5 separate regions of the Homo sapiens genome follow, and all the other regions are linked to region 5. The links are contacts of gene promoters, found by promoter capture Hi-C in blood cells and fetal thymus (Javierre and others, 2016). All regions are on one chromosome and are shown on one strand. The core of a region is centred on a gene start or on the middle of the fragment in contact, and the rest is flanking DNA. Distances in the headings are between cores, read along the strand shown.

Region 1 (2,849 bases), core at 306-2,805, 750 kb after region 5:
TCCCAAGTAGCTGGGACTACAGGCGCCCGCCACTACGCCCGGCTAATTTTTTGTATTTTTAGTAGAGACGGGGTTTCACCGTTTTAGCCGGGATGGTCTCGATCTCCTGACTTCGTGATCCGCCCGCCTCGGCCTCCCAAAGTGCTGGGACTACAGGCGTGAGCCACCGCGCCCGGCCTTTTCTCTGTATCTTAAAACTATTTCAAAATAAAATTTAAAACAGGCTGGGCGCAGTGGCTCATGCCTGTAATCCCGGCACTTTGGGAGGCCAAGAGGGGCAGATCACGAGACCAGAAGTTTGAGACCAGCCTGGCCAACATCGTGAAACCCCGTCTCTATTAAAAAGAAATACAAAAATTAGCTGGGTGTGGTGGCGTGCACCTGTAGTCCCAGCTACATTGGGAGGCTGAAGCAGGAGAATTGCTTGAACCTGGAAAGCAGAGGTTGCAGTGAGCTGAGACCACACCATTACACTCCAGCCTGGGTGATAGAGTGAGACCCTGTCTCAAAAAAAAAAAAACAACTTAAAACAAAAAAATCAGCCAGGCAGGCGCGGTGGCTGGCTCACGCCTGTAATCCCAGCACTTTGGGAGGCCGAGGCGGGCAGATCACGAGGTCAGGAGATCGAGACCATCCTGGCTAACACAGTGAAACCCCGTCTCTACTAAAAATGCAAAAAATTAGCTGGGTGTGGTGGCGGGTGCCTGTAGTCCCAGCTACTAGGGAGGCTGAGACAGGAGAATGGCGTGAACCCGGGAGGCGGAGCTTGCAGTGGCTGGAGATTGCAACACTGCTCTCCAGCCTGGGCAACAAGGGCAAAACTCCGTCTCAAAAAAAAAAAAAAAAATCACCCAGAGACATATCCTGGCATATTTTCTTCCTGTTCCTTTTCTTACGTGGGGGTGACATTTTCTGCTCCACCTAAGGAAGGTCGTGGCAGACACATGATTCTACACCACTACATTGAAGTATCATGACCAGCCGGGGGCGGTGGCTCATGCCTGTAATCCCAGCACTTTGGGAGGCCAAGGCGGTGGATCACTTGAGGTCAGGAGTTCGAGACCAGCCTGGCCAATATGGTGAAACCCTGTCTTTACTAAAAATGCAAAACAATTAGCCGGGCGTGGTGGCGCATGCCTGTAGTCTCAGTTACTTGGGAGGCTGAGGCACAAGAATCGCTTGAACTCGGGAGGCAGAGGTTGCAGTGAGCCGTGATCATGCCACTGCACTCCAGCCTGGGTGACAGAGTGAGACTCTGTCTCAAAAAAAAAAAAAGAAAAGAAAATGAAATATCTTGACAGGCATCATCACTCTCATTTCACCAACAGAGAAATTAAGGCCTAGGGCAGGTCAAAGAAATTAAGAAGGGCCAGGGCTGAATGTGAATGCAGGTCCCTGAGGCCAAGTTCCAGAATCTCACCACGCCAGGATTCTTGGTGGTTTTTTTTTTTTTGAGATGGACTCTCACTCTGTCATCCAGGCTGGAGTGCAGTGGTGCGATCTCGGCTCACCACAACCTCCGCCTCCCGGGTTCAAGCCATTCTCCTGCCTCAGCCTCCCAAGTAGCTGGGATTACAGGAGCACACCACCACGCCCGGCCAATTTTTGTAATTTTAGTAGAGACGGGGTTTCACTATGTTGGTCAGGCTGGTCTCAAACTCCTGACCTCATGATCCACGCCCCCCTCGGCCTCCCACAGTGCTGGGATTACAGGCATGAGCCACCGCGCCCCGCCCCACACCAGAATTCTTTCGAGGAAGTTCATTCCCTCACTCCTGCACACATTCACTTAAGCATGCCGAGGGCCTTGTGGGTCCTGGCCTGTGACAGACCGGGGGTGAAAGAGTCTAGGTGGCCACAGTCCTGCCGTCAACCAGCTTCCATTCTAAAGGCTTAATGTCTGCAACCCAGGGCGCCCGCTACCCAGCCTGGCCCAGCAGGAGTGAGTGGGGAAGGAGATATGCCCCTTCAAAAGGACTCACTCACTGCCCAGCTGTCAGCACCTTCCGGGTCCCCTCAGCTCTCAGATCGAGGCCACCCTGTTCCCTGGTGGCCAGTGACTGAGCAAGGCAGTGGTATTGTTGCAAGATGAGCCGCAGACAAAACTCCTCAGACACTGAGTTAAAGAAGGAAGGGGTTTACTCGGCCAGGGGCATCGGCAAGACTCCTGTCTCAAGGGCCGAGCTCCCCGAGTGGGCAATTCCTGTCCCTTTTAAGAGCTCACAACTCTAAGGGGGTGCGCGTGAGAGGGTTAGGAGGTACGTGACTGGGGGCTGCATGCGCCAGTAATTAGTCGGGAACAAAGCAGGATAGGGATTTTCACAGTGCTTTTCTATACGATGTCTGTAATCTACAGATAACATCAACCATTAGGTCGGGGTCGATCTTTAACTACCAGGCCCAGGGTGTGGTGCTGGGCTGTCTGCTTGTGGATTTCATTTCTGCCTTTTAGTTTTTACTTTTTCTTTCTTTGGAGGCAGAAATTGGGCATAAGACAATATGAGGGGTGGTCTCCTCCCTTAGTATCAGGACCTTTTCTAACGGGGGACTCCTCTGTCAGGCACTTCGATCCAGAGCTCTTCTGCTGGTGCCCTCTGCCCAATCGCCTTCCTCCCCATTTTTTTTTTTCCTTTTTGAGACAGGGTCTTGCTCTGTTGCCCAGGCTGGTCACTGTTCCCTCTGGTGCATTCTTTGTCCCCGTCAACCTGGTAAGCTCCAGGGGCTGGCAGCTGGCACAGAGTAGGAGGCTGCACTCCCTGACTTTTCTATGCTGCACACAGTCCTGTGCCCACCCTGTCCTCAGACCTGCCAGGGCCATGACCAACCTGCCAAGGGCATGGGAAACTGTG
Region 2 (2,700 bases), core at 200-2,699, 730 kb after region 5:
TGGGCAACATGGCAAAACCCCATCTCTATTAAAAATACAAAAATTAGCCGGGTGTGGTGGCACTTGTCTGTAGTCCCAGCTACTTGGGAGGCTGAGGTGGGAGAATCACCTAAGCCAGGGAGGTTGAGGCTGCAGTGAGCAGAGATCACACCACTGCACACCTGCCTGGGCAACCAGAGTGAGACCCTGTCTCAAAAAGATAAATAAATAAAATTTGCTGGGTGTGGTCGCGTTGCCTGTGGTCACAGCTACTTGGGAGGCTGGGGTGGGAGGACAGATTGAGCACAGGACTTCCAAACCAACCCGCAGTGCCCTGACCAGCCAGCTGTCTCCCTCTCCCACCCCTCTTCCTCACCGAAGCCCAGGGCACCCTCATCACCCTGTTGTCAGCCCCTGCCCTAGGGACTTACTGTGGCCAGACCTCAATGCCAGGCCTGGCCCCTCCTGGAGAGCACGCAGGCCAGGGCCTTGTCTCATGCACCCATTGGCTTCTCCCCTCCTTTCTCACCCACTCCTCCACACTTTCGCTCAAGCCAAGCCTGCCTCAAGGTGCCTTCTTCCTCCCCTGCCCGCATCTTACGTCCTCTCTGAGGCCTTCCCTGGTGGCTAAGCCCACAGTGGTGTCCCTCACGTGCTTGGCCAGTACTACGTGTAAAATGGGGAGAATGACAGACCAAACTCAAAGAGTGTCTGAGGAATGAATGAGGGGACTCGGGTCAAGTGCTTGGAGTAGAAGCTGGCACACAGCAGTGCTTGATGAACATCAGAGCCATGCATTATTATTAATATCACTCTTAATATCCCATTTCATGCTGAATCCACACGCTGCCTGGTGCTCTCTTTCACATTTGCTAATCACATCTCTCCAATTGAGTGAGGAAGCAGAAAGGACCCTGGAGGCAGAGACTGGTGGACCTGGATCTGAATTCCATGTTTCCCATGTGTTACCCCAGGGAAGTCACATAACCTTTCTTGGCCTCTGTTTTTGAGTCTGTAAAATGGAGCTAATGAGTCCCCATCCTCAGGGCTGTGATAAGGATCTGATGAGGCAATGTCTGCGAAAGCTCTAAGTAAACTGGGAAGAAATGCTGTGAGAACGACCGTTGCCGGGGAGGAAATTCCAGGCCAGCCATGGTGTTGCTGGAGTCAAGGGCCAGGTGGTTCTGCTTTTGATCAGATCTAGAATGTCCACAAATGGCTAGTCTGTGCCAGACTTTTGAAGTATGAAGTACACTGTAAAGTCACCTCTAAACCTCTCCACTTGTCCCCTCCAGTCTGTCCCCGGCTGCTCTCTGCACCAACTGGCCCTTTTCATTCTCTCCTGGTATCCCAGCCTCCTGACCTCCCTTCCCAGACTCTGCCCACTTAAGTCAATCTCTGCACTGTGGCCAGCATGATCTACCTTCCTGCAGCCCATTCACTCATTCGCTCACTCATACATTACACAATTGTTTATTCAGTTATTACCAGGTGTTCTGGAAATAAAACAGACCAAAATCCCTGCCCTGATGGGTTTTACATTCTAGCAAAATACAGACTTATTATGTAACCTCTGTGCTTTAAAAACTCAACTGGTTTTCCAATTATGCTGGAGTCAACAAAAGTCTTGGCAGGGCGCGGTGGCTCACGCCTGTAATCCCGGCACTTTGGGAGGCTGAGGTGGTCAGATCACGAGGTCAGGAGATCGAGACCATCCTGGTCAACATGGTGAAACCCCGTCTCCACTAAACATACGAAAAGTAGCTGGGTGTGGTGGCACATGCCTGTAGTCCCAGCTACTCCGGAGACTGAGGCAGGAGAATTGCTTGAACCAGGGTGTCGGAGGTTGCAGTGTGCTGAGATTGCGGCACTGCACTCCAGCCTGGTGACAAAGCCAGACTCAGTCTCAGAAAAAAAAAAAAAAAGTCTTGAGCGTAGCCTCCAGGACAGTTTGTGGTCAGCCTCTGCTCCCTTTCAGCTCCCTCCCCGCCTTCCCAGAAGGGAAGGCTGCCTTGGGCTCCAGGTGGGCCACGCCCCTTCAGACGCAGTGACCTTGCTTTGGTTGTTTTCGCAGTCTGGAAAGTCCTCTTTTAAGTTACAGGTTGCTGAATGTTTTCTCCGTAGAGGAGTTTATTCTCAGTCTGGCCTGGTAGCCCAGGTCAGGGGCCTCTCCTCCCCTGAGGTGTGCAGACAGACAAGTCACCCGGAGGCTCCTGACAAGGACTCTGCTTGACCCAATATTAGTCGGGCCCCTGAGGCTTCTCCTAGACCCATCTGTGTGCTTCCTTATACAATCCAGTTTTAGCAAGAACCCTGCTAGCTCACTGTGGCAGAAACCCCCCACCCTCCATATCTGATCACCCTTGATATCTGGTCAGGCTTCTCCTCCCCATCACCCCTCTGGTGATGTCTGGTCACCCTAGCCTGTCTTCAGCTAGAATCGTGTTAGGTGAGTTTAGCTAGAATCCCCGACCCCTGATGTTGCTCTTAGTAATTCCCCATCCCCTGGCCCCCACCCTGCTCCTTGGCTATCACCCCCCACTCGCCCATGCTGTACTGGGAGTTGAGCCCAGTCTCTCTCCCCAACTGCAAGAGCCCACTCCAGCAGTTCCTGTGTCTATCTCCATGGTCCTGAATAAAGTCTGCCTTACTGTGCTTTTTTTTCTTTTTTTTTTTTTTTTTTGAGATGGAGTCTCACTGTGTCACCTAGGCTGGAGTGCA
Region 3 (2,852 bases), core at 100-2,599, 800 kb after region 5:
CTTGGCTGTTATGTATACTGAGTCCTGTGCAGGGCCTCTGACAGCAGGAAGGGGCCCCAAGTCTAAAATACTTGAAGGGATTGGGTTACTAGGGCCATTATGTTAAGCAAGAGAGCTCGGGGGAATGCATTTTAGCTTCATATTCCTATTTAAAATGTGCTGTGTGGGTGGGTAAATTGCTTCCATAAGCTTCACAGTGGCATTTAAGGCTCCTGGGTTAAGTTAGGAATGGGGGTGTTCCTGATGTGGGGGCTTTAGGCTTCCATGAAGTGGGTCTGGGCCCCCTGCCTTACCTCACAGCCCCCATCTACCCTGGAAGAGGGAGTTGAAAATGCTGGGATAGCAGCAGGATCAGTTCTCAGCTTGAGCCAAAGCACCCGGCCCTGGGCAGCTGAGCATCAGCACAGAACCCTCTGAGTCCTTTGGGCTCTCTGCTGAGGAAGACTGCTTCACTCTTCCCGCCCACCAACTCGCTGGCCCAACCAGCAGCTGCTGCTTAAGAAAACACCCACAGACTCACCACATTTTAGTCTTAGCATTTACTTTCCCCACCCCACATTCTTGGAACAGCCTTTAGTTCTACAGGAAATGGCACTGATGGACAGAAGACTAGCATTACCTTCATGAAAGGGCTGTTAGAGCTGCCTGGGAAGAAGGCGTGCCTTGGGGAACTGGGAAGATGCCGTCAGTGTGGGTGGGCAGGAGGACAGCCAGTCGTCCTGCTGCCAGCCCAATAGCTTCCAGCGGCAGGTGCCCAGGTGCTACCGGAGCCCCTCATAGGGGTAGGGGCAGGGACTGCACCTCCTCCAGGCACTCATCGTAAGCCTCCTGGTACTCCTCATGGGGCTTGACCATTATCACACAGGTGGGGCGCTTGGAGCCTGCGGCTGCACCCAGGTCCTACAGAGGGGAAAGAAGTGCTGTTTGGAAAAAAGCTGTACAACCTGTATGCCAGGAAGTCACCAACTGATGACCCACCAGCCTAATCTGGCCCACAACCATGTTCTGTTCGGTCCATGTTCTATTTAAAAGCATCTTGAATTGGTTGCCATCATTTAAACTCAATCAGACTTTGAAGGCATGGTCCAGCCACACAGGGCCTACATTCCCACATGGCAACTATGAAAGGGCTCCAGCCCAGCAGGGGCTGTCCCGGTCCCTGCCACCCCCACTTCCTGTGCCTCAGATCTGGCCCCTGTTACGTAAGATAAGGACAGCTACAGGTCCCTCTGAGCCTAAACCCACCTAACCGGACTAACATGGGTGAAGCATCTTAGCTTACAAAGCTCTTTCACATACATCTATCTCTTTATTCTCATAGTCCACAGATAACTGACTATTTGGTTCTTACCATCAGGCCAAACGGTAAGTTCCTTCAGAACAGGGCCTCCTGCTTTATCCCAAGAAGTGATACTGTAGGTACCCAAGATCCACCCCCAGCCTCTATTTTTTTTTTTTGAGACAGGGCCTCACTCTGTCATGCAGTCTGGAGTGTGGTGGTGTATGATCATGGCTCACTGCAGCCTTGAACTCCTGGGTTCAAGTGATCTCCTGCTTTAGCCTCCCAAGTGGCTGGGACTACAGGCATGTGCCACCACACCCAGCTAATTAAAAAAATTTTTTTTGTAGAGATGGAGTCTCACTTTGTTGCGCAGGTTATTCCTGAACTCCTGTCCTCAACTGATCCTCCTGTCTTGGCCTCCCAAAGCACTAGGATTACAGGTGTGAGCCACAGCGCCTGGGCTGGGATTCCCACTTTACAAGATGGGAACTGAAATGCAAGAAGTAACATATCTGTAGTCCCAAAACTAAGAAGATGTGGAGCTGAGAATCCATCCAGGCCTGTCTTAGCTCCAACACTCCTGGCTCTTTCCCACACTCTCCTGCTATGGCAGACTATCCCAGACACCCCAGTGCTGAGCAAGGTCAGGGGGCCACGTGCTCCTTACCGTCTTAGAGGGGATATAGACATAGGGCAAATTTCGGTCCTCACACATGACTGGGAGATGGCAGTATACCTCAATGGGCAGTGTGTCTCCTGCCAAAACCATGATCCTGAAATGAGAGAAAACACTGTCATCTCTGGCTTGCTCCTTCCTTCTTTCAGTTTTAAGTGCTGCCCTGGGCTGGGTCTTAGGGATAGAGACAAAATTGTGTTTGGTGAGCACACTATTTGGGGGTGATCTCTACCTCTTGGCAACATACAGGTGCCACCAAAGTGATGTAGTGCTCGGACAGGTGAAGTACAGGATGGGTGCCAAGGTGTATGAGCTCAGCTCTCTTTGGAGAGTCAAAAAAGGGTTCAACCAGGAGGTGACACTTGAACAGCACGCTGATGGATGACTGTGTGGCAGGCAGCCCACGGAGGGGCTGGGGCGGGGGAGAGCATGTGGTGTGAGAATCAGAACGGCACCAGACACAGCCGAGAGACTGGCAGGGGACACCCCCAAGACCTTGAGTACCAGGCTAAGAAGCATGGGCTCTGTCCCAAGAGTGACAGTGAGGCAATGAAAGCTTGCCAGAGACTCAGCCAGGGTTCCTAGCTGGCCAGGTGTCAAGGCTGGGGGGCAAGGGCCTCAGGAGCCTAAGACACAGAAGGAAAAGTCTGCTCTCCCATGCTGGATAACAGGCGGACACACAAGGACAGAGCCCTCGGCTGAAAGAATGCTTCCGCACTCCTAGTGCTCCTCTGGGCCCTCTGCTGGCTCCCCTTCTGTTAAGCGCCTTTCACTGTGAGTGTTCCTCACAGCCTTGTCCTCGGCTGCCCTCTCCTCTCAGGACCTTCTTCCTGGCTGACCGGAGCCACTGCCATGGGGTCAGGTGCCATCTATGTGCTGAAAACTCCCAGATGT
Region 4 (2,700 bases), core at 83-2,582, 780 kb after region 5:
CCCCTCAACCTCCTAGCGTCTGCTGCCACCTCCTCCCAGAAACCTCAGGCCCCAGTTTTTGGAGCTCAAATGCTATTTAGACTTCATCAGTCTGGCCCTTACTAGAGTCTCACATTTTGTGGGACTCCTGTGCATGTATGTAATAAATTTGCATGCCTTTTCTCCTATTAATCTGTCTACTGTCAATTTTATTCCAGAGACTCAAATTATTGAAGCTTCGGAGAATACAGGGAATGTTTAAAACTTCTACGCTGGCAAAAAGTTAATTCAATTATTACTGAATTAATGGGAGAATTGATTGCTTTGAAGGAATCCTCCCCATCCCTAACAAAAATCAAAAACAATCCCTATGGGGAAAGATGGACAAAGTCAACTATTTAATACAACTTGGTGCACACTTGAAAATAATACCAAGATGCAAGGATGGCCACATACTGGGGGAGAACCTCAACTTTGCTCACATCCTTCTTGGCTGTGAGGCAGGCCAAGGCTCCCGGAGAGGAAGTGGGGAAGCCTGGGGCATTTGCCAAAGCCTGTGAGGTCAGGTTGGCTGGAAGGTGGCTTGGGCCCCTTGGCACCAAGGCAAGGTTCAATCAACTCTCCACCCCTATGGCTTCCGTTTGGGCCAGGGCCACCCAGGCTCCTCATGCTTGGGCAGGCATCTCTGGGATCCGCCCTCCTGACGCCCCTGCAGGCACACAGTCCTGCTGTGGGCCTTCTCCCCTGCTATATATCATAAGGTTTTTGAGCCGCAGTTTCCTTATGTATACGTGGAGGACACTGGCTTCTTGAGTATCTCTGAGTACCTCCTGTGTGCAAAGCATATGGTGTTGGCGATAAGGCAGTGATGAAGACAAAACATGGGCCTGGTGGAATTTTTTTTTTTGTTGTTCGTTTTTGTTTTGTTTTGAGACAGGGTCTCACTCTGTTGCCCAGGCTGGAGTGTAGTGGTGCAATCTTGGCTCACCGCAACCTCCGCCTCCCGGGCTCAAGCGATTCTCCTGCCTCGGCCTCCGAAGTAGCTGGGATTACAGGTGTCTGCCACTATGCCTGGCTAATTTTTTTTTTTTTTTGTATTTTCAGTAGAGACAGGGTTTCACCATGTTGGCCAGGCTGGTCTTGAATTCCTGACCTCAAATGATCCACCCGCCTTGGCCTCCCAAAGTACTGGGATTACAGGTATGAGCCACCACGCCTGGCCCATGTTTGTTTGTTTTTGAGACAGGGTCTCTCACACTCTGTTATCTAGGCTGGAGTAGTGGCGCGATCACTGCTCACTGCAGCCTCGACCTCCTAGGCAGCCTCCCATCTCAGCCTCCCAAGTAGCTGAGACTACAGATGTGCACCACCACACCCGGCTAATTTTTGTATTATTTGTACAGACAGGGTCTCCCTATGTTGTCCAGACTGGTCTAGAACTCCTAGGCACAAGCATTCCTCCCTCCTCAGCCTCCTAAAGTGCTGGGATTACAGGCGTGAGCCACCATGTCTGGCCCCAAAGAGGGTGATGGGAGTGGGGGCCAGAAGACAGAATGAACAAATAAACACGCAAGATAACTTCCAAGTGCTATAAAGAAAACAGGTCGGCTGGGTGCGGTGGCTCACGCCTGTAGTCCCAGCACTTCGGGAGGCCGAAGCAGGCGGATCGCGAGGTTAGGAGTTCAAGACCAGCCTGGCCAGCATGGTGAAACCCCGTCTCTACTAACAATACAAAAAATTAGCCAGGCATGGTGGTGTGCACCTGTAGTCCCAGCTACTCAGGAGGCTGAAGCAGGAGAATTGCTTGAACCTGGCAGGCGGAGGTTGCAGTGAGCCAAGATTATGCCATTGTACTCCAGCCTGGGCGACAGAGCAAGACTCCGTCTCAAAAAAAAAAAAAAAAAAGAAAACAGGGCAAGGAATGGTGGCTCATTCCTGTAATCCCAATACTTCCAAAGGCTGAGAGGGGAGGATCTCTTGAGGCCAAGAGTTCGCAACCAGCTTGGGCAACATAGGGAGACCACCTCTCTATTTTGAAAAAAAAAAAAAAAGTAAGTTGTGCAAAGGGGAGGGAGGGGAAGGCATGGAGGATTCAAGGGGAGGATGGCCTGGAATGAGGCCCAACCAAAAAGGGAGCAGAAGTGGGCAACACAGAGACCTGGCTTTTTCTCCAGGGCTGTTCCTAGTCCCAGCTGAGGCCTGAGGAGGAGTGGGGACTTCTCTACTCTTTCCCTCCAGAGCAGAGGGTCCGGGATAGAAAATTCAATCTGGGGCTGGGTGTGGTGGTTCATGCCTGTAATCCCAGCAATTTGGGAGGCTGTGGTGGGTGGATCACCTGAGGTCAGGAGTTTGAGACCAGCCTGGCCAACATGGCAAAATCCCCTCTCTACTAAAAATACAAAAATTAGCCGGGCATGGTGGAGCATGTCTGTAATCTGTTACTCATGGAGCTGAGGCAGGACAATCGCTCGAAGCTTGGAGGTGGAGGTTGCAGTGAACCGAGATCACACCACTGCACTCCAGCCTGGGCAACAGAGCAAGACTTCATCTCAAAAAAAGAAAAAGAAAATTCAGTCTGGACCTGGGTTTGGGGTCAGTGCCTGTTCCCTCCTCCTTCCTAACCCTCACCCTTCCTCCTTAGGGCAGATGGGCAGCTCCCATCTTCTCCCCTTCCCCCGTTCCCCAGGACAGCGACCAACACAGGGCGGCAGGGTAGGGCTG
Region 5 (2,700 bases), core at 15-2,514:
CTCAGTGTGGATTCTGTGTAGCAGCTGTCATTGGCCACTGCTCACATACTACATACTACATACTCTGAGGCAAAGGTCACAGACACTAGAACTGCCCACAGGTCCAGTCCCTCCACACTACTGATGACAAGACCCTCAACCAAGCATTGCAAAAAGGGTTCTAAGGGGTTCCTCCACTGTCCAGGTGAAAAGAGTCAAGTACATCGAGTGAACTGCTGGGCTTAGAGATCAGACAAATCAGAGTTTAAATACTGTTTATGACATTTGCTAGCTGGGTTATCTTTGTATAGTCATGAAAGCCATCTATTTCAAACAGCTTGTTTGAAAATTAAATGCAATAAGGCATGGCAAGGTCAGTGCCTAATACACAGCAAAACACCCAATAAAGATCCAGTTCGCTCGGTTCTTCCCATTACTGAGGGGGTTCAAGGCAGACAGCCTGACAGTTCCACTACTTTCTGGCTATGTAACTTTGGGTAAGGCCCTTTCAAACCTGAGTCTTAGCTTCTCAGTGGGTAAAATGGAGATAACATTACTCATCTCGCATGGCTTTTAAAGTGAGGAGGATGTAAAGTGTCAAGCGCAGCTCCTGACACATAGTAAGTACCCAATACCCATCGCCTCTTATTATTGGTGGGTGTGACCGAGATGAGGAAAAGGCCAGGGACGGAGGTGCAAACCTATAAACGAAGCTGGGGTCTCAGCTGCTCGGGAGGCAGGGACTAGCAGCCAACCGCACAGTACGCCTATCCTCTTGAGAACCACTCACCTGGTGGTTCCAGATAGAGCCCTCTTTGCTGCGCTCGTCAGGGGTCAGACGTACGTACTGGCTCGTGAGCATAGTGCTGCCCTGGAAGTCCCAGAGGGGCATAGAGCTGGAACCGACCCCTGTGGGAAGAGACAGGTGCTAAGAGGCCACGCCAGGACTGGCCTCACCAGAGGCAGGAAACCCACAGAGATGCTCTGCTCAGGAGAAAGGGCACGCCTTCCCCTAGCCCTGTTCAGCCTCGCCCTCACTCTTCACTCATTCCCGCCCCAAGGGCTTCACCTTGGTAGGGCTTAATGAGCGAATGCTCCCGCTTGAGATGTTCACTGTTGCCGTCAGTTATATCCGCAGTCACAGACCCCAACAACAAAAGAAGAAAGAGAGGTGTAGTGGGGCCAGGGCCGGGGCCGAGAAGCCCAGGCCTTCCCAGGCACCGCCGGCCCCAGCCCCAACGCCAAATCCAGCCTTCCGCCGCCATTCTCCTCTCCTCTCGGCCACTTCCGCCCTAGAACTTCCGCCTTCCGGGGGTCCCATCTATTGGCCTCCGGCCGGAAGCTCTTCAACTTTACTGTCGCCAGGGAGTCAAAAAGCAAAGCCTCCGCAGCAGACGGGGCGGCAGCTGCATTGGCCGGGCAGCCTCTCATCCTGGTTGAGTGCAGTTTCATCTCCTTAGAGGCTCCAAGGCACACGCCGGCCAGCCCCAGCAATGGGTTCTTTCGAGCGACAAGAGCTGTAACCAGTCACGGAACAGCACGTTAGGCTTGCGAGCCAATGAGGAGCAGAGGGATGGTTGGAGCCGGCGGGAGCGCGAGGGCCGTCCGCGACTCGGGGCATGCTGGAATTTGTAGTTTTTGTCGGTCGCTCTAATGGGGCGGATTCGCGAAGACTAGGACGTCTTGGGCTTCTGGCCGCAAGTCCCGTCTCTGGAATAACCTTTTCTAGTCCTGGAGAAAGGAGCTCTGAATTGAAGGCGGAGTCCTGCATTCCAACCCTTGTCCTCCCCGGGTGGCCCTGGGCAAGCCTTTAAGCCGTGCCTGCCGTCAGGCGCCCCAGCTTCGCGCCTTTGGAGACTCAGAATTCCCAATTATTTGAGGGCCTCCACTACCCTCAACTCCTCAGGCCTAGTCGGGTTGAAGCAAGAGGAACAGACACAGATCCTGGCCTGGGACCCCAGTGATGACTGGAACTCATCCCTATGCAAAAGAGCGCAGTGCCTGGTACAGCAAGTAACGTCCATGGAAGGCCCAGGAAAGCTGTGAATCAGAGGTCGAAAACTGGTGGCCTGCAGCTGAATAGAGCTCTGTTTTACCTGCCAATATTCTAATAAATGGCTTAACTACCAGTATTTTAAAGTCAGAATATAGAGGCTGGGCGTGGTGGCTCACGCCTGTAATCCCAGCACTTTGGGAGGCTGAGGCCGGCGGATCACGAGATCGGGAGATCGAGACCATCCTGGCTAGCACGGTGAAACCCCGTCTCTACTAAAAAATACAAAAAATTAGCCGGGCGTGGTGGCAGGTGTCTGTAGTCCCAGCTACTCGGGAGGCTGAGCCAGGAGAATGGCTTGAACCCAGGAGGCAGAGCTTGCAGTGAGCCGAAATCGCGTCACTGCACTCCAGCCTGGGCGACAGAGCGAGACTCTGTCACACACACACACACACACACACACACACACACACACACACACAAAGTCGGAATATGTACATTCACATCAGAAATCCAGACTTCCGGCTGAGCTCAGTGGCTGAGGCCTGTAATCCTAGCACTTTGGGAGGCAGAGGCGAGCAGATTACCTGAGCTCAGGAGTTTCAGACCAGCCTGGGCAACACGGTGAAACCCCGTCTCTACTAAAATACAAAAGAAATTAACGGCGTGGTGGCGGACACCTGTAGTCCCAGCTACTCGGGAGGCTGAGGCAGGAGAATTGCTTGAAC

Evidence for each region. The method cuts DNA at HindIII sites, captures the fragments that hold promoters and counts their contacts. A CHiCAGO score of 5 or more calls a contact.
Region 1: a fragment that was not itself captured here is called in contact with the fragment with the promoter of LMAN2 in region 5 in 1 of 17 cell types (total B cells); the score reaches 5.4 in total B cells.
Region 2: a contact is called between a fragment that was not itself captured here and the fragment with the promoter of LMAN2 in region 5, in 1 of 17 cell types (total B cells). The highest score is 7.4, in total B cells.
Region 3: a fragment that was not itself captured here is called in contact with the fragment with the promoter of LMAN2 in region 5 in 2 of 17 cell types (naive B cells and total B cells); the score reaches 7.8 in naive B cells.
Region 4: a contact is called between a fragment that was not itself captured here and the fragment with the promoter of LMAN2 in region 5, in 1 of 17 cell types (total B cells). The highest score is 5.5, in total B cells.

What each region holds. Positions count from the first base shown.
Region 1 is chr5:178,101,694-178,104,542 of GRCh38, forward strand. No RefSeq gene overlaps it. Among named protein-coding and RNA genes, the nearest start is that of N4BP3, 10 kb to the right of the region's middle. The HindIII fragment of the contact is 5,559 bases long and covers 1-2,849 here.
Region 2 is chr5:178,079,780-178,082,479 of GRCh38, forward strand. No RefSeq gene overlaps it. Among named protein-coding and RNA genes, the nearest start is that of N4BP3, 32 kb to the right of the region's middle. RefSeq lists a cis regulatory region at 1,898-2,570. The HindIII fragment of the contact is 6,225 bases long and covers 1-2,700 here.
Region 3 is chr5:178,148,939-178,151,790 of GRCh38, forward strand. RMND5B (required for meiotic nuclear division 5 homolog B) reads left to right here. Exons shown (of 11, transcript NM_022762.5): 11 at 1-1,630. NHP2 (NHP2 ribonucleoprotein) reads right to left here. Exons shown (of 4, transcript NM_017838.4): 3 at 1,950-2,055; 4 at 525-900. The coding sequence ends at 775. Among named protein-coding and RNA genes, the nearest start is that of NHP2, 3.5 kb to the right of the region's middle. RefSeq lists an enhancer at 2,014-2,515. The HindIII fragment of the contact is 2,325 bases long and covers 188-2,512 here.
Region 4 is chr5:178,126,864-178,129,563 of GRCh38, forward strand. It overlaps a transcript of N4BP3 not described here. Among named protein-coding and RNA genes, the nearest start is that of RMND5B, 2.8 kb to the right of the region's middle. RefSeq lists enhancers at 1-336, 999-1,659, 2,673-2,700. The HindIII fragment of the contact is 2,238 bases long and covers 214-2,451 here.
Region 5 is chr5:177,350,404-177,353,103 of GRCh38, forward strand. It overlaps LMAN2 (lectin, mannose binding 2), which reads right to left and starts at 1,265. Exons shown (of 8, transcript NM_006816.3): 1 at 1,049-1,265; 2 at 770-888. The coding sequence starts at 1,244. RefSeq lists enhancers at 1,206-1,395, 1,406-1,455 and a silencer at 1,350-1,564. The HindIII fragment of the contact is 10,936 bases long and covers 1-2,700 here.